7 separate regions of the Homo sapiens genome follow, and all the other regions are linked to region 2. The links are contacts of gene promoters, found by promoter capture Hi-C in blood cells and fetal thymus (Javierre and others, 2016). All regions are on one chromosome and are shown on one strand. Each heading gives the region's core, a stretch centred on a gene start or on the middle of the fragment in contact. The rest is flanking DNA. Distances are from core to core; before and after follow the strand shown.

The links. The method cuts DNA at HindIII sites, captures the fragments that hold promoters and counts their contacts. A CHiCAGO score of 5 or more calls a contact.
Region 1: a contact is called between a fragment that was not itself captured here and the fragment with the promoter of ARL6IP5 in region 2, in 1 of 17 cell types (total B cells). The highest score is 8.3, in total B cells.
Region 3: a contact is called between a fragment that was not itself captured here and the fragment with the promoter of ARL6IP5 in region 2, in 1 of 17 cell types (non-activated CD4 T cells). The highest score is 7.4, in non-activated CD4 T cells.
Region 4: a contact is called between a fragment that was not itself captured here and the fragment with the promoter of ARL6IP5 in region 2, in 6 of 17 cell types (total CD4 T cells, naive CD8 T cells, naive B cells and 3 more). The highest score is 13.1, in total CD4 T cells.
Region 5: a fragment that was not itself captured here is called in contact with the fragment with the promoter of ARL6IP5 in region 2 in 1 of 17 cell types (total B cells); the score reaches 5.9 in total B cells.
Region 6: a contact is called between a fragment that was not itself captured here and the fragment with the promoter of ARL6IP5 in region 2, in 1 of 17 cell types (naive CD8 T cells). The highest score is 6.4, in naive CD8 T cells.
Region 7: a fragment that was not itself captured here is called in contact with the fragment with the promoter of ARL6IP5 in region 2 in 1 of 17 cell types (total CD8 T cells); the score reaches 5.6 in total CD8 T cells.

Annotation. Positions count from the first base shown.
Region 1 is chr3:66,380,475-66,383,450 of GRCh38, reverse strand. It overlaps LRIG1 (leucine rich repeats and immunoglobulin like domains 1), which reads left to right. Exons shown (of 19, transcript NM_015541.3): 15 at 50-469; 16 at 1,053-1,178; 17 at 1,820-1,972; 18 at 2,590-2,874; 19 at 2,962-2,976. Among named protein-coding and RNA genes, the nearest start is that of LRIG1, 120 kb to the left of the region's middle. RefSeq lists enhancers at 1-254, 255-756. The HindIII fragment of the contact is 3,340 bases long and covers 1-2,976 here.
Region 2 is chr3:69,083,302-69,086,186 of GRCh38, reverse strand. ARL6IP5 (ARF like GTPase 6 interacting protein 5) reads right to left here and starts at 1,250. Exons shown (of 3, transcript NM_006407.4): 1 at 964-1,250. The coding sequence starts at 1,139. RefSeq lists an enhancer at 1,170-1,479. The HindIII fragment of the contact is 15,418 bases long and covers 1-2,096 here.
Region 3 is chr3:66,468,930-66,471,907 of GRCh38, reverse strand. All of the region lies in intron 1 of LRIG1 (leucine rich repeats and immunoglobulin like domains 1), which reads left to right. Among named protein-coding and RNA genes, the nearest start is that of LRIG1, 31 kb to the left of the region's middle. The HindIII fragment of the contact is 2,560 bases long and covers 71-2,630 here.
Region 4 is chr3:66,295,815-66,299,088 of GRCh38, reverse strand. The region is part of intron 5 of SLC25A26 (solute carrier family 25 member 26); the gene reads right to left. Among named protein-coding and RNA genes, the nearest start is that of SLC25A26, 76 kb to the right of the region's middle. The HindIII fragment of the contact is 1,135 bases long and covers 1,422-2,556 here.
Region 5 is chr3:66,435,156-66,438,007 of GRCh38, reverse strand. All of the region lies in intron 3 of LRIG1 (leucine rich repeats and immunoglobulin like domains 1), which reads left to right. Among named protein-coding and RNA genes, the nearest start is that of LRIG1, 64 kb to the left of the region's middle. RefSeq lists enhancers at 1,113-1,702, 1,703-2,293. The HindIII fragment of the contact is 5,612 bases long and covers 1-2,852 here.
Region 6 is chr3:66,485,576-66,488,542 of GRCh38, reverse strand. All of the region lies in intron 1 of LRIG1 (leucine rich repeats and immunoglobulin like domains 1), which reads left to right. Among named protein-coding and RNA genes, the nearest start is that of LRIG1, 14 kb to the left of the region's middle. The HindIII fragment of the contact is 1,908 bases long and covers 377-2,284 here.
Region 7 is chr3:66,356,824-66,359,664 of GRCh38, reverse strand. The region is part of intron 6 of SLC25A26 (solute carrier family 25 member 26); the gene reads right to left. Among named protein-coding and RNA genes, the nearest start is that of SLC25A26, 140 kb to the right of the region's middle. The HindIII fragment of the contact is 2,214 bases long and covers 420-2,633 here.

The sequences.
Region 1 (2,976 bases), core at 341-2,840, 2.7 Mb after region 2:
AGCAACGGAGGCCCTGAGAATGACTAAGATCTCTGTTGCTCTCTTGTAGAGACCCCATCCTTGGTGGTCCCCTTGGAAGACCGTGTGGTATCTGTGGGAGAAACAGTGGCCCTCCAATGCAAAGCCACGGGGAACCCTCCGCCCCGCATCACCTGGTTCAAGGGGGACCGCCCGCTGAGCCTCACTGAGCGGCACCACTTGACCCCTGACAACCAGCTCCTGGTGGTTCAGAACGTGGTGGCAGAGGATGCGGGCCGATATACCTGTGAGATGTCCAACACCCTGGGCACGGAGCGAGCTCACAGCCAGCTGAGCGTCCTGCCCGCAGCAGGCTGCAGGAAGGATGGGACCACGGTAGGCATCTTCACCATTGCTGTCGTGAGCAGCATCGTCCTGACGTCACTGGTCTGGGTGTGCATCATCTACCAGACCAGGAAGAAGAGTGAAGAGTACAGTGTCACCAACACAGGTCAGGCCCTGCCAGCGGAGCTGACTTTCAAGGAGGGAGGAATGGCAGTGATGCTGGGGAACTGGGCCGGGTTCCAGTGGCTTTTGAAAGAATTGCACTGTGTTCAGAACTCCTGAGGGTTTAGTCCCACTAATTCCATTTTAACTTTGAGGAACTTAACCTTAAACAGGAATACTCTCAAATTTAACCTTAAACAGGAATACTCACAAATACAAGTAACTGACGCACCATGCAGTTTTCCCTCTCCTTGCTAACTCAGAGGCCGCCTATGCACAGGCCCTGCTGCCACGTAGTAGGTTGTTCCTGAAACAGTGCGGTACTTCTGTGAGCCCCGGCTTTCCATCACTGGTCTCCACTTCTTGTGGCGTCTGGCATCTGCTGGCTGCGCTCTTCACGCTGGGTGTAGAGTAAAGCTGAGCAGGCTCTGGGAGGGCCTGTTGCGTACATGGACTCCATGTCATCTCTCTGCACAGCGCTGATGGTCGTCACTGGGAGGATCCCCTTTCTGAGCTTGACAGTGAACGTGTGTCTGCATTTCTTGTCACTGAGACCCTGGTGTTCTATTTGTTCTGTCTCCTTGCAGATGAAACCGTCGTGCCACCAGATGTTCCAAGCTACCTCTCTTCTCAGGGGACCCTTTCTGACCGACAAGAAACCGTGGTCAGGACCGAGGGTGGCCCTCAGGCCAATGGGCACATTGAGAGCAATGGTAAGGCCTCAGTAACTGTGAAGCAGAGCTCTGCTGTGACTGTGTCTCTGGGTGCTGGAGGTGGCCTCCAGGTCTTTACAGGGCAGGTACCTGGCATTAGATGGGGCAAACTTGGTGAAGTAGAAGGCGGTATGACTAAGGGCTGCTATTTTGGACCCAGTCTTCATGAGTTCTGCAAGGTTTTAAAGTCCTGTCCCCTCAGGAAGCCACTGGATTGGGCTTAGCATCTCCCTGGCAGGATAAAGTAGGCTTGCCTGGAGTAGCAGCTGGAAAGGGCATTACGGTGCATGAACCCAGCCAACCCATTCCTTACATGGGGAACGTGCCCAGGTCTGCTCTGTGATCCAGTCTTACACTGGAAAGCTGTCACCAGGATGAGGTACTTCCAACGGTGGGGGCCTCTGAGCACTTGCCTGAGACTGTAGAGGCTCACCCTGAGACAGCTGCTCATTTCACAAGGCCAGCCTGCCTGCTGGGAAGTAGTAGCAGAAAACACGCTGCTTGCCAGACCAGCAGCCCCACCGCTCTGAAGAACTTTTTAAAAAAAATGACTGTTCTAGCGGCCTTGCTCATTCCTTTCATAAGGCTTACTGTGAAATACCAAGCCCAGAGTTTCTAATCGTGTTGGAATCCACTTGCAGGTGTGTGTCCAAGAGATGCAAGCCACTTTCCAGAGCCCGACACTCACAGCGTTGCCTGCAGGCAGCCAAAGCTCTGTGCTGGGTCTGCGTATCACAAAGAGCCGTGGAAAGCGATGGAGAAAGCTGAAGGGACACCTGGGCCACATAAGATGGGTATGAGATGCTTCCCATTGGAAGTAGTTTCTTTCTGAAATGGAAATTTGGGCTGACCTAGTCACTACATCAAAGGGGGAGACACATTCCTAGTCCACAGCTGTCTCCAAATTTGGTATTCAGTATATACAGGGGAAGCTCAGGCCTGGCTCTCTTAATTCCAGGATAGTTTCTCCTAAATAAATCTACGCCATGGTAAGCCTGAGCATGAATTTTCTAGATGTATAAGCAACTTAAATAAGGGGCAAGGCACAAACGAAGTATAGAGTTTCAGTCAGCACTTTTTCACCAGGGCTATTTTGAGGCTTATTTCTAATTGTTGAAAAGACCCAACACTGCATGGTACCTAAGGCTAATGGCTTTTCCCCCGTGAAGCAGTAAGACTACATTGTCTATGAAATTCACTGTAAACACGAAAGACCCCACAGTTCATGAGTGACTTGGTGTTTGCCCAGTCCTTTCTCTGGGGACATAGTTGGGGAAAAGAGGAAGCATGCATACAGTGTTTGCAGTCAGGGTTCTCACCTTGCACAGTGGAGCTGAGCAGCCTGTCCTCTGTGTGGGGACGAAGACTCCCACAGCAGTGACTCTAACCCATCTTTGGCGCTGTCCTTCAGAACACGGTGGCCGGGTCGTATGCAGTGACTGCAACACCGAAGTGGACTGTTACTCCAGGGGACAAGCCTTCCACCCCCAGCCTGTGTCCAGAGACAGCGCACAGCCAAGTGCGCCAAATGGCCCGGAGCCGGGTGGGAGTGACCAAGAGCATTCTCCACATCACCAGTGCAGCAGGACTGCCGCTGGGTCCTGCCCCGAGTGCCAAGGGTCGCTCTACCCCAGTAACCACGATAGAATGCTGACGGCTGTGAAGAAAAAGCCAATGGCATCTCTAGATGGGAAAGGTAACTTTTGACTGTCTTCTAACAGGTGGGTTGGGAGCTGCTTAAACGGTCAAGTGGGGGTCTGACAGGTTCGTTCTTTCCTTGTAGGGGATTCTTCCTGGA
Region 2 (2,885 bases), core at 1-2,500:
TTTCTCCCAAGCCAGCTTGCTGCTTCTTCCCTCTACGTCTGCCCTGAAATAGAAATGTCAGACATTTAAGTGCAAGTGAGTCCTTTATAAAGTCTGAGGGTGGCTTTTTCTTTAAAGATGTGTAGGAGATAATCAGCAAGATTGAGAATATCACCACCCATCCTGCATAAGCGAGAGAAGCATTTCTTAAAGGGTGAACTAGAAGGAAAGGTGGTTTCTAGGAAAGCAGGTGTACATGCAGTCTCAACACAGGATACTTTGTTAAGTATCAGGTATTGAAAAGGCCTTCTGATACATTGAAACCTCAGGCTAGGAAGCGAAGACAGAGAAAGTGACCACGCCTGGCCACTGCTGGAAGAAAATGCCAGAAGGCCATCTTCCCACAGTCATGGCAGCCTTTACCCCACAATGGGAGATGCGCCACCAGGAGACACCCCCCCTTTTGATCCCAAGCTCAGCTTTACTGTACAGTGTGGCAGGCATTAGGCAGAGAAAGCAGCAAAGTGCGTCGCCACTTGGTTGCCCTTTTTACACTAGCCCGGGTCCACACCCTGCCGCCCCAGCCAGCTCCAGGGTAGGGTTACACCACTTTCCTTTTTCTTCTTATTTTTAAAAGACGAGGGCGCTACAAATATCTTTCCAGCAAGAGCCCGATCCTGGCACGCGGGCGGGGGCAGGGGGGTGGGGGAACTCTCATTTTTCTTCCCTGCGGCTGGCAAATTTTCCCCGTCCTCTTTCCCCTAGGGCCCCCCTCAAGTCTCAGCCCTTGGTGCAGAAAATGGGGCCCCAGGTTACTGCGGCCTCGCCCTGCAAACAAGTTTCCACTGGCTTGGCCGCTTGCAGAATTGCCAGGGCAGGCGCTGAGCGTGGTCAGAGAGCGTCTCTACATCCCGGGATCTTGCACCCCGAGGCCCCTCCGTGCTCGCCCCGGATCGGTGTCCCGGGTAGGGGGACCCCACTTACCCCACAATGGAAATCATCATGGCAGCCACCACCAGGTAGTTGGTCTGGTAATAGAGCAGGTTGCTCACTACGCGGTTGTTCCATTTGGAAATGTCCCTGAAGTCCGGCCGGGCAAAGCGATCGGAACCCGGGAAGAAATCGTCCCAGGCGCGGAGTGGGGCGATATTAACGTCCATGTTCTCAGCTTTGCGTTCTTCGCCTCCAGAATCTGGCGGCGGCGGCGGCGGCAACCGATCAGCTGAGCTGAGTTGGAGAGTTGACAGCGGCTCCGTCTCGGTCGGCTTTGCGGTTGGCAGACAGCAGAGCAAAGGAAATTGGGAGTGGGCGGGCGTGTTTGCTCCTCTTTACTTCTTCATTGGCTCTTGGTTGGGTACAGGAAAACAGGAACCTCCAGACAGAACAAGGGACTGAGTGCAGAATAGAGACGAAATGACAGAAAGCAACTAGCGGAAATCCCCTGTCTGAAGGGAGGTGGCAATGCCTTCTCTAGCAGCAGAGAAGCTGCCTCCTTCGAAATACCTTTTTTGAAGGTTTACCTAGGAGTGTGTTCTCTGACTTAGAGAAAAATTTTGGCAGCTGTGCAGATGCCAATCTAAGTGAAATGAAATGGAAGGCGACTACAGTGTTAATGGAGAATGAGCTGCTTTTGAAAACTAAGTCTTACTAACCTCTACACATCTGAATGCAATTCCCATGTTTTCTCTGTTTCACCATGAGTCACTATGTGTGAAATCAGATTGGCAAAACGGGAAAGAAGGTCATGTAGAACAGAAGGGCTGGTCTGTTTTTTTCACTTCTCTTCTTTGTTCTCCACCTCTGTTCTCTCTAGGCTAAATTGTTGGACTGCTATGCCATTCTGATAAAGTAGGCACTCTGGCCACTTCAGTCCTGAGCTGGGCATGTTGCTTACATTTTAAAGCAAACAGTTGTCTGCAGTGAACTAGTTGTTCTGCATCCAGCATTTTCTGGGCAGAAATATGCATTCCACTTCAAAAGTTTTCTTAGTTTTATTGCAATATTTGGTGACAGCTTTCACTGAGGGACCACAATATATTCATAGATAACGTGATGTTTTGTATCCCAGCCCAAAGACCTGGCAAAAGAAGTATTCGTTGTCAATTCTCTTCTAAGCTTCCAAGGGTCATCTTTTTTCAGTTAAGGGGCTGATTGGTACAATGCATGAGAAAAAAAGTAGTTTGTTTAATTGTATAATGTAATAGGTAGAATTCTAAGGTGAAGATTTCTAAGATAACAGAGTCTCTAAGCCCCTAAGTGGCTTAGACAAGGTGAATTCACTCTACTCAGATCACCAATTTTTGAAAACTTGGAAAGTAATGAAATATACTAATGCAAAGTCTAGAAAACATAATTTAATTTTCCTTATTAATTCAGAAGACAGTTAAGGAGCTTACAGCGACTCTAAGAAATTACTACTACTACTGTTGTTTAGGAAAATTTGGTGATTGCATGGAATTAGTGCTAAGATATATCTTATGTGCTGCTTTTTGAATAAAGTTTAAAATGTGAAAATATTCCTGAGTGCTCATGTTTTCTTGATTCTGGAAAAATGGGATGGTGTGAAGTCAGAGAAAGCAAAATTAGAGTCGCAGCTCCTTCCTCTCTGGCAGGTGACTTTGGAGAAACTACTTAATCTCTCCCAGCCTCGGTGTCTTCATGTGTAAAGTGGGGATAATGGAACATCTGCCATATAGACGAGGCTAAGTGAAGGAATGTATAGGAAATGCTTAGTGTATAATAAAGGTTCACAGTTATATGTTACTATTATTGTTATTAGCAATAGGATAGCCCACGATTCTTGTTTGCTATTAATAGTGCTTTAATCTGATTTGTTTTCTATGCTTTCATTATAAACATCTACTAACTTTTCTCTACCTTGCTCCAACTTTATTGTTGTGGATGTA
Region 3 (2,978 bases), core at 101-2,600, 2.6 Mb after region 2:
GGGGCGGATGTGGAGGGGTAAAGGTGGAAGTTTTAGGAAAGGAAAACAGTAATCCGTGACCAGAGAAGCTTTGGTGGACTTTACAAAGCACTTGGTGAACCTGGGATTCCAAATGTATCCACCAGGTTAATGTGTCCTTTTTCTCAGTTTTACCCATCCCATATTTCCTGTCCCTTTTGCCTGACTTGTTTTCAGTACTCCAGAAGCAAAAGTCTCCGTTTTCTGCCGCAGTAGAGCGTGGTTTTCATTTATGAGAACCCTCTGCCATCCTTTAACTGAGAGAACCTCTGGGTTTTACCTCTGGCCGCCCTTCATCCCCGCCATGCCCTCCGTCCCTGCTGGTTGGGATGGATGAGCCTTTGCTCTCCCTGCAGCGGCTGGGGCCCTAGGCTGTCAGGGCACCTCGGGGAAGAGTTCAGTGGGAGCAGGGAGCACCTGGCTCCAAGGTTCCAACCCCCCTCTGTTCTGCAGAATGACTGGGCTCCCAGGAGGTAAAGATTCAGCTCTGTTACTGGATGGGGTGAGGATAGGGGGGCTATTGTGCAGGTGATGAGTTTGCCAAGTCCTGTAGAGCTTAAGGACTATGTGAAAGTTAGTGAATTAGTGTTTCTTTTTGGAGATGATAAAGTAGAGAATAGGCGATCCTGAATGACCAGACTTCTGACCCATCTCTTCCCGCTCCCCATTTCCAAGCCTCTGCAAAGCACTTCTCTAATAGCAAAGCCAAATGGTGGCTGTAGGCACCTCTTGCCTGCTGGGGTGGCCATGGTGATATTCCCTTTGTGGCAGGTCTGTGGGAGGGTCAGCCTCTGGCAGCAGCTATTCCCTGCCCAAATTCCTTTTGCTTGTAAAGTCCCCACCAACTGCAGAGCTGGTGTGTTGGAGCGCCTCTTCTTAATTAAATTAATTAATCTTTAGGGGTTAATGATGCACATACCATATTAACAAGAGACTATTATGGGAAATTTGTGGGCTTTCCTCAGTACTAAACTGCACTAAAGATGAGACTGCTTAAAGTAAAACAAAACAAAACCCATTATAGCTAATTATTTTGTTTCTTTTTGGCCAAACTAAGATTTTTGGTAGGAAAGATCCTAGAATCTCCCATTTTAAGGGGTAGTATAGAAAGCAAATGCTAACTGCCTTCAGTGATGGTGAGAAAACAAATTGGGCCTCTTGATTATCTAGTTCAGAACTTTTAAGTAAATGAACAAGGCGATACTCTGTTCTTATGGAAATCAACTTTAATGGCCCCATAGATTAATGTTCGTGAGGGACCTGGCACTGGGGTTTGCTAAGGTTTATATAACCCTTGACTTAACCGCCTGGTGGGTTGTGGGTCTGGCAGCATGGGGCTATTCTTCTCAACTTTGCTGTAAAACCATTTGTGTCTTGCCCTTTCCTTTCTAGGAGGTCCTGACTTCTTGGCCTTTTTGTTTGCTTATTTTACTCCATGCCCTCCATTCCTTATTTTACTTTTCTGGCCTCGTTTCCCAGGACTCCTCTTCAAAAAAACATGCTCTTCTTCTAGGCTTAGCTGAAATCTTGCATTTTCAATAAACGTTTCTCATTACAGCTGATCTTTCCTGCTCTGGACGCCATCTGGCCTTCATTCATGTTATCCATGCTAGGGATGACAAACTCAGATCTCGGGCTGGGAAGATACTGCCGGTGAATAAAGAGGGCATGGGTGAGACAATAAGGAGTGGTGAGGTCTGTGGTCATTGGAATGCTTGGTAAATGCATGTAGTTGATTGTTTCTGTTAGGAATGCTGGCCCTCCGATTATTTTCAAGAAAAGCTGAAACTTTAGTTTTTGGTGAAAACTTTAGGTTTCTACCAACACTGTTCAGTCAGAAACAAGCAAGTTTCCCTGCAGCCCAGCTTTGTACCCACAAACTACCAATTTGTAGCTACTGATCTACCATTACAGAATGCTTGCAAGTGTCAGAGCCTTTGGCTGTGTTATTTGGTCAGTATTCTTTTTTTTTTTTTTTTTTTGGTAGGGACAGGGTCTCACTATGTTGCCCAGGCTGGTCTCAAATTCCAGGCCTAAAGTGATTCCCCGACTTTAGCCTCCGAAAGTGCTGAGATTTATAGGCGTGAACCACCACACCCGGCCAGGAGTCTTAACTTGACCAGTGGGTTGTAAACCACTTCAAGTCACAGACTAGATCTTATCCTAATTTGTTATCAGTTTATCACAGTGCAGTATACCTTGTAGACAATAAATATTTGTCAAATTTGACATTTGTTGGGTGCTAGAGGGAAAAGATGTAGACTTGTACTCAAATTAGCTACAGACCAGGATGACATGTGTGAACTAGTAAGGCCGAGAAGCACATGTAAGACCTTATGGGATCACAGAGGTAGGCATGAGTTTCTTCTCTCAGTTAACGTCACGGGCGTTAGACTTCAGAGGCCCACACTGATTATTATAGCTGATTTTTAAGGAGTAAAAATAGGCAATGAGTCTGGGTCCATATATAGCTGTATGTATATAGTATCTCCTATTTTGAGTCACTGTAGGTTTCCCTTATTTGCATAGATAATGGTCTATGTAAAATTTTCAGAAATGGAAATAACTGGTGACTCATTACTGACTTTGTGAGATACAACTGCCCAAAAGCTTACAAAATGAGCTATTTGTATCATGTTGAGATCTGAGTGATTTTTTTCATTTGATTATTTGCAGAATATGTTCTTTTGCCATAGGGAATATGTGGCTGCTTAGCTTACTGAAGAGAGGTAGCAGCAAGTACAGAACCTTCTCCTGAGTGGAGATCCTTGGATAGGATACTAGAGGAATGATTCCAGTTCAAGATACAATTTTGTCATCTTAATATAAGCCTTTAATGTGCATTATCCGCTTGTTCAGTTGTGGTTTTTGGTTAACAAGGGGAAGCATCACAATACAAAAAAAGGTAAGAACATCTAATATTCTGGGATTTGAACGAAGTCTTATTCTCTTTTATAAAA
Region 4 (3,274 bases), core at 740-3,239, 2.8 Mb after region 2:
CATAGGTACGTATTCATGTGTACACACACATACACACACACAAACCAAGGGTCCCTTTTCAACAAAATAAAGTTAGTTAACTAAGTTTACACACTGAGTTTTTAGATGGCACCTTCAAGTGAGTTTTTATGTTAAAATTTTTCCCTTGTTAGCATACTGTTTCTATGTAACTTGGGATCTGGGGGAGGGAAAAGACTGTTTTTCATGAAATAGAAACAACCTATGCCAAATGAAGCAGGTGTGAGATATCTCAAAGATGAAAGCAATTCTCCAAATAGCAACGTCATCCTGTAATGCTTTCTTGACATGTACAATTTTGCTATTCCTCTGACATTTATTACAAAGTACTGTGTTTGTGATCTTTCCTAACACAGATCAGTAGTGTGACTGGTGCTCATTTCTAGCAGCTTTTAGCACTGAGGAAAAAGTCAATTCAACACTGATGTCACTTAAAATGGGTAAGAAATCCAGCTACAGCAGAGGCTGCTGTGCCCCTTAAATGCTCTTTTCTTAAGACACTTTCTTCACAAGCAAATTAATTCTTAATGTAATTCTTTTATTCTGAAAACTGTTTATTACAAATCATCAGTTTTGAAATAATTCAAAGTGATCTCCCACCAAAAAAAGAAAACCCCACAAAGAAATAAATCATATTTACTTTTCTGTCCATTAAAAATATGCTGAAAGTGACACAGATGTACCTCTCAGAAATTTCTCATTATATTAAAACTTATCCACAATTTATGACAAGGAGTTTTACTAGAGAAAATATTAATTTCACCAGCTTAGTAATAATATCCAACATTTCATTTTCCTCCTGATATACCTATCAAATGGTTTTGGTATTTAAGCTCTTCTTTTTTTCAAAACAGAAGAAAATCTGTTAACTGAACTTTGTATCACCTAGTCCAGTGGTTCTCACACTTCAGAATGCATCAGAATCATGCAGAGGGTGTATAACACAAATTCTGGGCCTCACCCCAAGTTTCTGATTCAGAAGATCTCAAGTGGGGACTTAGATTCTGCATTTCTAGCAAGTTCCTAGGGAATGCAGCTGCTATTCGTGGAGGGACTGTACTTTGGGAACCAATGATCTACTCAGTATTTTCCTTCTTTTCATAATTTGCAAATTTGATAACGAGGAAATGATATGCTATATCCTTTAAAGACAGACATCTTTTGAGAACTTAGAATTAAAGAGAAATTGACAAAAAGGAAATCTAATCTAAGGCACAGCACAGCCCTCAAAGATGATCTAGTCTAGGATTCAGAAAACTTTTTCTGTAAAGAGTCAGATAATAAATAGCTTAGGCTTTATGGTCCATACAGTCTCTGTTACAACTACTCAACTCTGCCACTGTTGTGTGAAAGCAGACAGACAATACATAAATGAAAGAAAGTGGCTGCATGCCAATAAAGCTTTATTACAAAAACAGGCTGTGATCTGGATTAGGCCCACAGGTCATAGTTTACCAACTATTTTTTAAAAAAGGAAATCAATACCCAGAGAGATTAAACAACTTCAAAAGGCACAAGATAGCGAGTGGCAAAACTGCAACTAGACCTTCAGTGTCCTGATGTCTGATGTACTAAGGAAGCTACTGTTATAGTAATATTTTGATAAAGAACAGCCACAAATGGAATGCATTACAAAACCTCATGTAGCTTAATGATCAAAAAGAAAAAATGACTTTACTAAGCAAAAGAGCATCTCAGTTCTAGAATTAATGCCAGACATTCTTTTTTTTTTTTTTTTTTTTGAGATGGAGTTTCACTGTTGTTGACCAGGCTGGAGGGCAATGGCACGATCTTGGCTCACTGCAACCTCCACCTCCCGGATTCAAGCAATTCTCCTGCCTCAGCCTCCCGAATAGCTGGGATTACAGGCACCCACAACCATGCCCAGCTATTTTTTTTGTATTTTTAATAGAGATAGGGGTTTCATCATGTTGGCCTGGCTGGTTTTGAACTTCTGACCTCAGGTGATCCACCCGCCTCAGCCTCCCAAAGTGCTGGGATTACAGGCGTGAGCCACCGCACCTCGCTCAATGCCAAACATTCTTATTCTTATTATTACTTATAAATGGGAGGCTTCCACCATTGGACAACAATCTGGACTCTTGTCACATGGCTTCCTGCAGCCTACACTAGGTTGGAGCAGGGCCTACGCCAGTCAAGCCTTCTGTTCAGGGAGTGTGGAAAACAGAATCGAGGACTTCTCAGTTCTTACCCTCTTGGTCCTGCACCTTTCTCATCCCATCTGCAATCCATTTTATGCCATTCGTTAAAAAAATTCTTCCCAGTACTAAAATTATGGTTAAGAGCCAAAAGAGGTAGTAAACTATGAAACTTAAGTTAAAAACAATGCTTCTGTTCAAAGTTTTATTTTCATTCTAGTGATTAAATAATTATTAAGTTAAATATAATATTTAGCTAATAAAAGTAAAGCAGACATTTATCTTCACTACTTAGATACCTAAAAGTATACTATGCATACACACACAATACATTCACATATGAACACATACTCCCTATGCTTTCATAGTTGCCAAAGCTTTTACTCTTAAAACTGATTATTTAAATAAGCAATATATTTTAGCAATTAATAAAGTAAATTTTATGTATGGCCTTACAACTATTTTATGACAGTTTATTTTTAAAAATAAAGCAAATGCATGTATATCAGGAAAATAAAATAACTTGATTTTAAGTATCTGAGATAAAGTTTTGAACATGTTTGATGTACTCTAAACCATGCATGGAAAAGCATCTGTTATTTACAGATCAAAGCAAACCTGAGTATCCTAAAACAACTAGAGTGAAAAATTCCCAAATTTAATTTCATCCCTGTCCACATGCTTCTTTGAACTAATAATTCAGAGAATTGGTCAGTATGTTGAACTAATTAGCATGCTTAATGCTTGCCAACTTTGATGGCTCCAATTCTTTAAGAAATTTTTTTTTTATTTTCCAAGACGGAGTCTTGCTCTGCCACCCAGGCTGCAGTGCAATGGTGCGATCACGGCTCATTGCAACCTCCGCCTCCCGGGTTCAAGCTATTCTCCTGCCTCAGCCTCCTGAGTAGCTGGGATTACAGGTGCCTGCCACCATGCCCAGCTAATTTTTGTATTTTTATTAAAGATGAGGTTTCACCATGTTGGTCAGGCTGGTCTCGAACTCCTGACCTCGTGATCCACCCATCTCGGCTTCCCAAAGCTGGGATTACAGGCGTGAGCCACCGTGCCCAGACAAGAAATGGAATTTAAAAAATAGT
Region 5 (2,852 bases), core at 46-2,545, 2.6 Mb after region 2:
GTGGCTTCCCATCCTCTATGGGACAAAGTCCCAGCTCTTTCAGAGTTGGCCCTGGCTCCATTTCTTCCTGTTCTCCCACCTCTAAATTGTGCGTAAGGAAAGCCCACACTGGGTGTGTCTCTGGATCCTGTACCTGCTTCATTTTGCTACCTTGATCTGGAATAGCCGCCCCTCTTCTGACCTCCTCCCCCCATGATGTTGTGTTCCCCTCTGCCACTGCACCTATGACATCCCTCTGTCTCCTCTGGGGCTGGGGTGAGGGGCTGATGGCACAGTAGCCACGTCCGTCTTTCCTTGCAGCAGCTGCATGTAGCAGGCATCCCATCCATGTATGGATGAATGACTCTGAGGGACCAAGTGGAAGGGTCATCTTAAGGATAAGTGATTGTGGGGTATGGGGCAGACACTAGGTTGTTTTAGATACTTATTCAAGGTGGAGAGACAGGCTTGGGCACGTTATAGTAGAAGTGGCCTGCTGAGGGGTGCTGGAGGGCGTGGCTCTCCAGCCAGGGGATAAGTCTTGCTTGCCTGGATTTACTGAAGAGGCAGGCAGGGTGTCAAGGGAGAAAAAGTATTAGTGGAAACTGCCATGTGAGAGGCCGCCTGGCCCAGAGGTGGACAGGGCTTGCCCCCAGGGCTCATTATTGGGGTTTGAGTCCTGGTTCTGCCATGTTCTAGCAGCAGCTTTTCAAGCCTCTGTTTGCTTAGATGAGAAATTGCTCTTACCTTACCACAGATGTGTCAAAAAAGGGCTCTCCCAGTCTCTGCTCGCTTGTTTGAGGGGCCAGCAGGTGGTTTGGGAAAGGCTTTCTGTGAAGCGAAGGTGGAGAGTCACTGCAGATCCCTGCAGGCGTCCAGCCCATGCTGGGAGATGCCACCCGTTCCCCACTGCAGAGACGGAAGGAAAATGAGGGAGGTGCAGCAGGCTGCGTAAAAGATGACATTAAGGAGTGCCTGGATTCTAGAGGTGCCAGTAGATGGCATTGAGGGGGAAAAGAGTGCTCTGTGTTCAGAAAGTTCAGAAAACCCAGAGTTGAAGGTGAGCACCTTTCTTTCCTGCAGAACATTTCAGAGCCTTTAGTGCTTGATGTTCCCTTTGAGTCTCCAAGGACAAGCAGAGATCTTCCTAAGATCATTTCATCATAGCTCTATTATGTTTTCATTTTCTTTCAGAGGTAGGAAGGGAGATTTTGGGAGCATGAGAGGTGCTGACCTAGAGAATGATAAAATCCACTCCTCACGTTCCCCTGGCAGTAGAGAGTGCTGCTTCCCTGTCTCTAAATGCACATCCATGAAGTTTAGACTTCGCTACCACAGGCATATATTCCCCCCTCCTCTTCAGTTCTTCCTGTGCAGGCTTGTCACAGTTTGGCTTCATTTGGAGGCTGGCACCAGACCCCCGGGCTCTGCGTTGTATGTCTTTTGACCTCAAATGAGGGGGAGAGACGTGGTGTTTCCCACAGATAGTGAGTAGTGAGCCACCTGGAATACTTGTTCTGTGGGATGTTAATGGTCGTTTCATGAAAAGGATTTTGTGGTCATGTAAGTTTAGCAAATGCCAAAGCAAGCCGAGTGAAAGGTGTTGTTATCATCTCTCCTAAGCCGCTTTTCTTTGCTGACCTGCTGAGGGAGTCTGCAAGAGGCGGGGGAGGAAATGCCCCTTCCTGAGCTTGCCTGCACCCAGCACCCTTTCCATGGAACACCTCCCAAGGCCAGTATACGAAGGATGATGCTTTGGGAGTGTGGTGTCTGGCAACCTGCGTCTGCCACTTTCTGGGCATGCACGTCTGGCACGTCTTCCTTGGCCAAGTAGTGCTGGAAGAAGACACAGGGCTGGATGACAACCCCTGATGCCAGGCAAGGGCCACGCTAGCTGTCCTCAGCTTTATCAGCAACACCCTTGTCTCTAGGAGTCCCAGCCCTCAGCCCTTTCCTAAATGATGGGAAGTAATTAAACAGTTCATGCATATCCCTACATTTCAGAAATCACACAGAGCCCAGTGGTAGTTGGTGCTTGGCTCTGAGACCTCAGTCATACTGTGTAAGTTTCTGCTGGTTTGAAGGATGGCTGGAGACTAGTAAAGTAGCAGGAAGGCTGATTCCACTGGGAACTCCCCCAGACTTTCCATCTGATTCCACCGTGAATGCCATGACACTTTTGTATTGTTGTTTTAATGATACTTAGGGATAATTGTTGATTCACATGCAGTTGTAAAAAAAAAAAAAGTAATATGGGGAGATCCCTCACGTACCCTTAAACCCAGTTTCTCCCAATGGTGACATCTTGTACAGCTTTTCATAACCAGGATATTGACATCGATGCAGTCAGAATGCAGAATATTTGTATCATTGCAAGGATCTCTCCCCTTTATGGCCACAGTCATTTACTTCTTGCCCTCACACCCTTGGTTGTCTTTTGTTTTCTTTTTGAGACAGAGTCTTGCTCTGCCATCCAGGCTAGAGTGCAGTGGTGTGACCTTGGCTCACTGCAACCTCAGTCTTCCAGGTTTACGTGATTCTTCTGCCTCAGCCTCCCAAATACCTGGGATTACAGGTATGCACCACCACACCTGGCTAATTCTTGTATTTTTGTTTTTTGTTTTTTGTTTTTAGTAGAGATGGGGTTTCACCCTGTTGGGAAGGCTGGTCTCAAACTCCTGACCTCAAGTGATCTGCCTGCCTCGGCCTCCCAAAGTGCTGGGATTACAGGCTTGACCCACCATGCCTAGCCCCCCCTGGTTGACTTCTAATGTGTTCTCCAAATTTGTAGTTTTTTCATTTAGAGTTTTATATAATGGAATAATAAAGTATGGATAACCTTTTGGGATTGGCTTTTTTCACTCAGCGTAATT
Region 6 (2,967 bases), core at 81-2,580, 2.6 Mb after region 2:
GCCTCAGCCTCCCAAAGAGCTGGGATTACAGGCGCCTGCCACCAAGCCAGGCTAATTTTTTTTTTTTTGTTTTTTTTTAGTAGAGACAGGGTTTTACCATGTTGGCCAGGCTGGTTTTGAACTCATGACTGACCTCAAGTGATCCATCCACCTCAGCGTCCCAAAGTGCTAGGATTACAGATGTGAGCCACCACGCCCGGCTGTGGCTTTTTCTAATTTTGAAGTCTGACTCTGTTTTTGGCCAAATTCATATTAAATTTACCCATCTACCTAGGTTTGCATTGGTTACCTCTTAGTTACACTGTTTTTGAAAATCTTGAAAATTATGACAGTAATTGGACTCCTTAAAATACTTTTCATGGAGAATCTAGAAGCTTTTATTTTCTTTGTTCTGGATGTCCACTTTTCTTCGACGTGGAATTTGTTAGTGCCTTCAGTGGAAATTCTTGGGCTTTTCTTTTCCTTCCACTCATTCTTTATCGTGTAAATTTTCATAAAACGAAACTTCCGGATTTAAAATTTATTTTTATTTTTATTATTGTTTTCCGGAACAAATTCTTGGAATTTGGAGTTTTGTTTGGGGATACAACTAAAATGCAATGAAGTTGGAGGAACAGTTAGTGGTCTGGAACTTCTTGACAGAAGTTTAACAACAATTAGGGACTACTTTAGGAATAGAGTGTCCAAAAAACTAGACTTTACAAAAAAAATTCTCCCTTTAAGAACCAAAGATGACCTTTTTCCATTGTGCTTTCTGAGCTCAAAACAGGCCAAATGATGTTCCCACCCTTCTTCGAGCCTCGTGTGTCAGTGTCACACACTCTCCCTGTTACTCACTTGGTCTCGTTCTGGTGAATTTATTGTTGACATCTCGTCCTTTCCCGGAGGAATCTCTGAGTCTATCTGATTAGGTAACTCTTCACACATCCCTGTATGTGTGTATGTGTGTGTGTGTGTTTCTCTCCACTTAGACTTGAAAGCAGCAGGGATCATTCAATTTCATGTACCTAGGAGTCCCTTGATAATTATTTGTTTATTGCCTTACCACTTTGTCTTGGAGCTTGGTACATTCTTTCAGGGCAGAACGGATCCCCCAGTTTCATTGTTTCTCTAAGGGGTTCTGAGGTTTACCCCTGAAGTGTAATTTTTCCTGATTGGCCTGTGTGGAGGACTTCATAGGAGTGTTTTTAGAATTTAAATATCAGGAGTAAAAGGCCATTTTCTTTGTGCTGAGGGTCTGTTTTCCCCTCTGGAGCCAGCGGCTAAATGCAGAGGCTTTCTTCAATTGCTGTTGCTTCTTGCAGTGTGGCCCCTCAATGAGAAGTCATAGCTTGTGGTTTGTCTGATTTTATATGTCAGAACTTTTAGAGAGAATATTTGACCTAAAACAAAAATTATGGATAGTCCTCTCTTCCTTTCCCATTTCTCCTTATTTTCTACTTTCTGCTTGAGAACCACTTCAAAGAATCAGATGTGTTGGTGCCAGACGCCGTGGAGTTATTGTTAGAAGAATTTGGAAATATAATTGAAAGCAAACTTTGTTGAGCAAAGCAGATCTAGGCAAGTTTTTACTTTGAGGGCGAAGGGAATTCCAAGTTTTTCCTCTATTTGGAGCTGATGTCTCAGAACACTTGTTCTGTGAGATGAATCATCTGTGAATTCTACATCTGGGAGTTATATATTGGGAAATGGCATTCTTTTTAAATGTAGAAGAAACACAAAAGCGTAAAGTTACAGTGTAGTTGGAAAATTCTAGTCAGAGTTTAAAATACTAGCATTGAGGTGAAATTGGCAGAGTGATTGGACGTGAGTCTGTGATACCTAAAATAGACATGTCCATACATGGAAAACAATACGATAGCCACACTTACTTATTGTGACCCTTTTCGTTTGTTTTGAGACATTTTTAAAAAGTCATAAACATCAGCTATTCAGAATCATTAGTTGAGTCGATTGTGACTTGAGAATCAGAATTTAAGCGTTTGTCTTGAGCTCTTTAAGTTCAGGTGCCTTGCTAACCAGTGAAAAGCCCAGAGCAGTGCAGTATTTCAGGGTCTTCAGGGGAAGATAATGTTGTGTCCTTGTCTTCTCAGAGTCCTGCATTCCAGGCATCTGGTTATGAGGGGCCATGGTTGTGGGGATGCAGCAGCTGTGCGGTTCATGACGCACGGTGGTTAAGAGGCAGCTCTGGGGCCTGGCTGCCTGGGTGACCTTGGCAATTTACTCCACTTCAGTTTCCTTTTCTGTAAAATGGGGATAATTGTAGTGCCGACTTCCTTAAGCTTGTTATAAGGAAAAAAATGAAATATTTAACACAGGGCCTAACACACAAGCAGAAGCTTGAGGAAGGGTAGCTATAATGTTATTATTATAACTGTCGCAATAATAGTGTACCTTTCTGCAGCAGGATATATCTGTGTTAACTGATCATCACCATCTTAACTCTATGAAAAATATTGTCTCTGTTGTATACATGAGGCCCAGAGTAGTTGAATGACTTGTTTAGAGTCTAGCACTTGCCAGTTAGAATTCAGACCTGCGTGTACATGTTTAGAAGAAAATACGGTAAGACTAGCACTGCCTTCTTTCTGGCCTCCCTTTGACGTCTCTGAATTCCTGGAGGCCGATTGGTCTTTGGTGGCTTGAAGCACCTAGTGTAGTTCTGGCTGTACAGCTGGTGCTCTATACATGGTGTCTTGAATGTGATCTTGAAGAGCGTGTTTCTTTGTTGGTAGGCGTGTGTGTCAGATCCATTTTTGGTTTGCCTGTTTGGTAAAGGGGGTGGTAACATGCACATATGTTTTGCCATCTGTTGTTTATTGTTTCTGTTAGGTTGTGGTTTGTGTTCCTGTTCCATGTTCCTTTGGTTTCTGGAGCAACTGCGAATATTATATGCTTGGGGATCAAAAAAAGTAAACTATTTATAAACAGTAAAGTATCCTTGGGTTTGGAAAGTGTTTTTCTCAA
Region 7 (2,841 bases), core at 277-2,776, 2.7 Mb after region 2:
GGTGGCAAAGGGTGTATTTTATCAGGCTAATGCCAGTTTTAACACCAACATTTACTTCACCAACTTAGTAGAAAAGCAATGCAAAATATAAACTAGATTTCTGTTGATGACTAAAGGTCACTTTCAGTTAATCTACTTATATCTTTAAATGTTCCAAAGAGTAGAAGGCTACTCCAAATAGACTTGAAATGCTGGTAATAATGCTGAGTTTATAAGCAAAAGTAAATAACAGTAAGATGTGAATGTGATAAGAAATCAAAAATGTTATGCAAGTCATAAATTCAACAACTACTTACTAGGTGTCAGGTATTGTAGTCAAGAAAAGAAAAAGTAACAGTCCCTAGGTCTAATATTTGATGAAGGTATGGTGGGGGCAGAAGAGGATTATACAAGAGAGAAGTGAGGTGACAGAGAAAGCTTCACAGAGGTGCCTGTTATAATCTAGGGAGAAAAAAATTGGTTGCCAGGGGGCGAAAAAACACAATCCAAATAGACTCAGATGGCTGAAGACAACATTTAAAAACAGAATCTCCACAGATAAGTCTAACTTTCCACTATCACCTGGCCAGAATAATGAGCCTACAAAAAACACATAAAGAAATAATTTGGTATTTGACATGGATACTAATAAATATCTTAAAACAAACAAAAAATCTCTAGAAGACCCAAAACGTTTAAAGTGAGAAACTTCAGTGGCAAACACAAAGCATGACGTAAAGAATGACTGTAACAGCAACCACAATACACACTTCCATAGAACATACAGAACTTCCCACATTCCAGGTGTGAAGCACTTTACATACATCAGCTCATGTAATTCTCTCCAGAATCTTCCGACTTACATGTAATTTTTATTATCTTGTCATTTTATAGACAAAAACATTGTGGCTCACGCCTGTAATTCTAGCACTTTGGGAGGCCCGGATGGGAGGATCACTTGAGGCCAAGAGTTTGAGACTAGCCTAGTTAACACAGTGAGATCCCATCTCTAAGAAAAAAATTGTCTAAAGATGAGGCTCAAAGATGTTAAGTAACTCACAGATTAAACAGCGAGTAGGAAAGCTGGGATCTGGATGGGACACTCTGGTGTGGGCATGAAAACACATGGGTTTGGATCTATAGGATATAGTTGTCCTGGTAACACACAGATAAGCATTCATGAGACACTTTACTTCCACACGCAAATCACAATTTCTACCGGAATGACTTAAAATATCCAAGTGAATGAACAAACTATGTCAATGTCTGCAACAACTTGCTTAAATGAGTTTGAAATGATTTTTCTAAATGAGGAATTGTCTGAATACAGAACTTCAGAAATGTAATATTGAGACCAATCTAAAAAGAGTGTTATTTACAAATTATTCATTTGAGTGCAACCTTAAACTCATAAAACAACAATAATCAGAAAGTGACTCGTAAAAAATACATAAATTATGGAAATATTTTGAAATTACATATTTGCTCATCTATTTGGAGGGACAACAGAATTGTAATAAACAAAATACTCTAGCTGGAAGACATTACTCACAGGAAGACTATGTATTGATTATGACATTCACATAATTTTAGACTGGAATGTAGGATATAGTACAGGTAACAATATAAATTATTACTATTGACAATATTAGTTGGGATTTACTGACTACCTACAATGCTCTAGGCACTATGCTAAAGATTTTACATGTATAATCTCATTCAATGTTGAGAAGTATATTATTCTCCACAAAAACAGGTGAGGGGCAAGTTCTAGGAGATTTGCCTGAGGTCACATAGATAGTAAATGGGAAAACTGAGGCTGGTTCGTCCTGCAAATAGCAGTCTGTTTCCTCACTATCATATACAGCTCAACTTCTAGTCGAACTACATCATAATACACACGTTATTAAATATTTTGAAGTTAATACAATGAATTTAAATAATGTGGGTTTACAAAAGTTTTTTTTTTTTAAGAATCTGCCGAAAATTTTCTAAATTTCCATAATTTCTCAACCTAAATAAGTAATTTCATTGCCACAGAGGTCTAATGATCATTTCTGTCAAGGCGGATAAATGATTAGGGGAGGAGAGGGGCATTAAGGGGCCCGAATGTGAAGAAGCAGTATTGGAGTCTCAACTCACGGAGGAGGCTGTATACCAAAATAACAATAAGGAATTTAAAAAGCAAGGGGCCACATTTTCCCTGATGTTTGCTTATTTATCCCAATTCAATGTCCCATTTCCTTTTTCTGTTCAAATGTAAGTAACTTAAGAGACAGGATCTTGTTCTGTTACCCAGGCTGGAGTGCAGTGAAGTGATCACAGCCCACTGCAGCCTCCAACTTCTGCACTCAAGCGATCTTCCCGCCTCAGCCTCCTGAGTAACTGGGACTATGGGCAAGGGCCATCATGCCCGGCTAATTTATTTTATTTTTTTGAGGCAGCATCTTGCTATGTTTGCCCAGGGTAGTCTCAAACTCCTGATCTCAAGTGATCCTCCCACCCCAGCCTCCCAAGTAGCTGGAATTACAGTATAAATGAAATTTTCACATGAATCTATGGTTACATTAATGAGAAATATCAAGTTTAAGTAATGAGAACAGAAGTCAAAAATGTTCTTAGTTTCACTTCGGTAATTTTTCTTAAGTAAAGCTTCCTTAATACAGGTTGATTAGAAACCATGTCTACTAGGTTGTATGACACTTATTTTGAAATAATTTTAGATTTACAGAAGAGTTACAAAAATAGGAACATTCCACCGAGTGCAGCGGCTCGTGCCTATAATCCTAGCACTTGCTGGAGTCTGAGGTGGGAGGATCACTTGAGCCCAGGAGTTTGAGACCAGCCTGAGCAACACAGGGA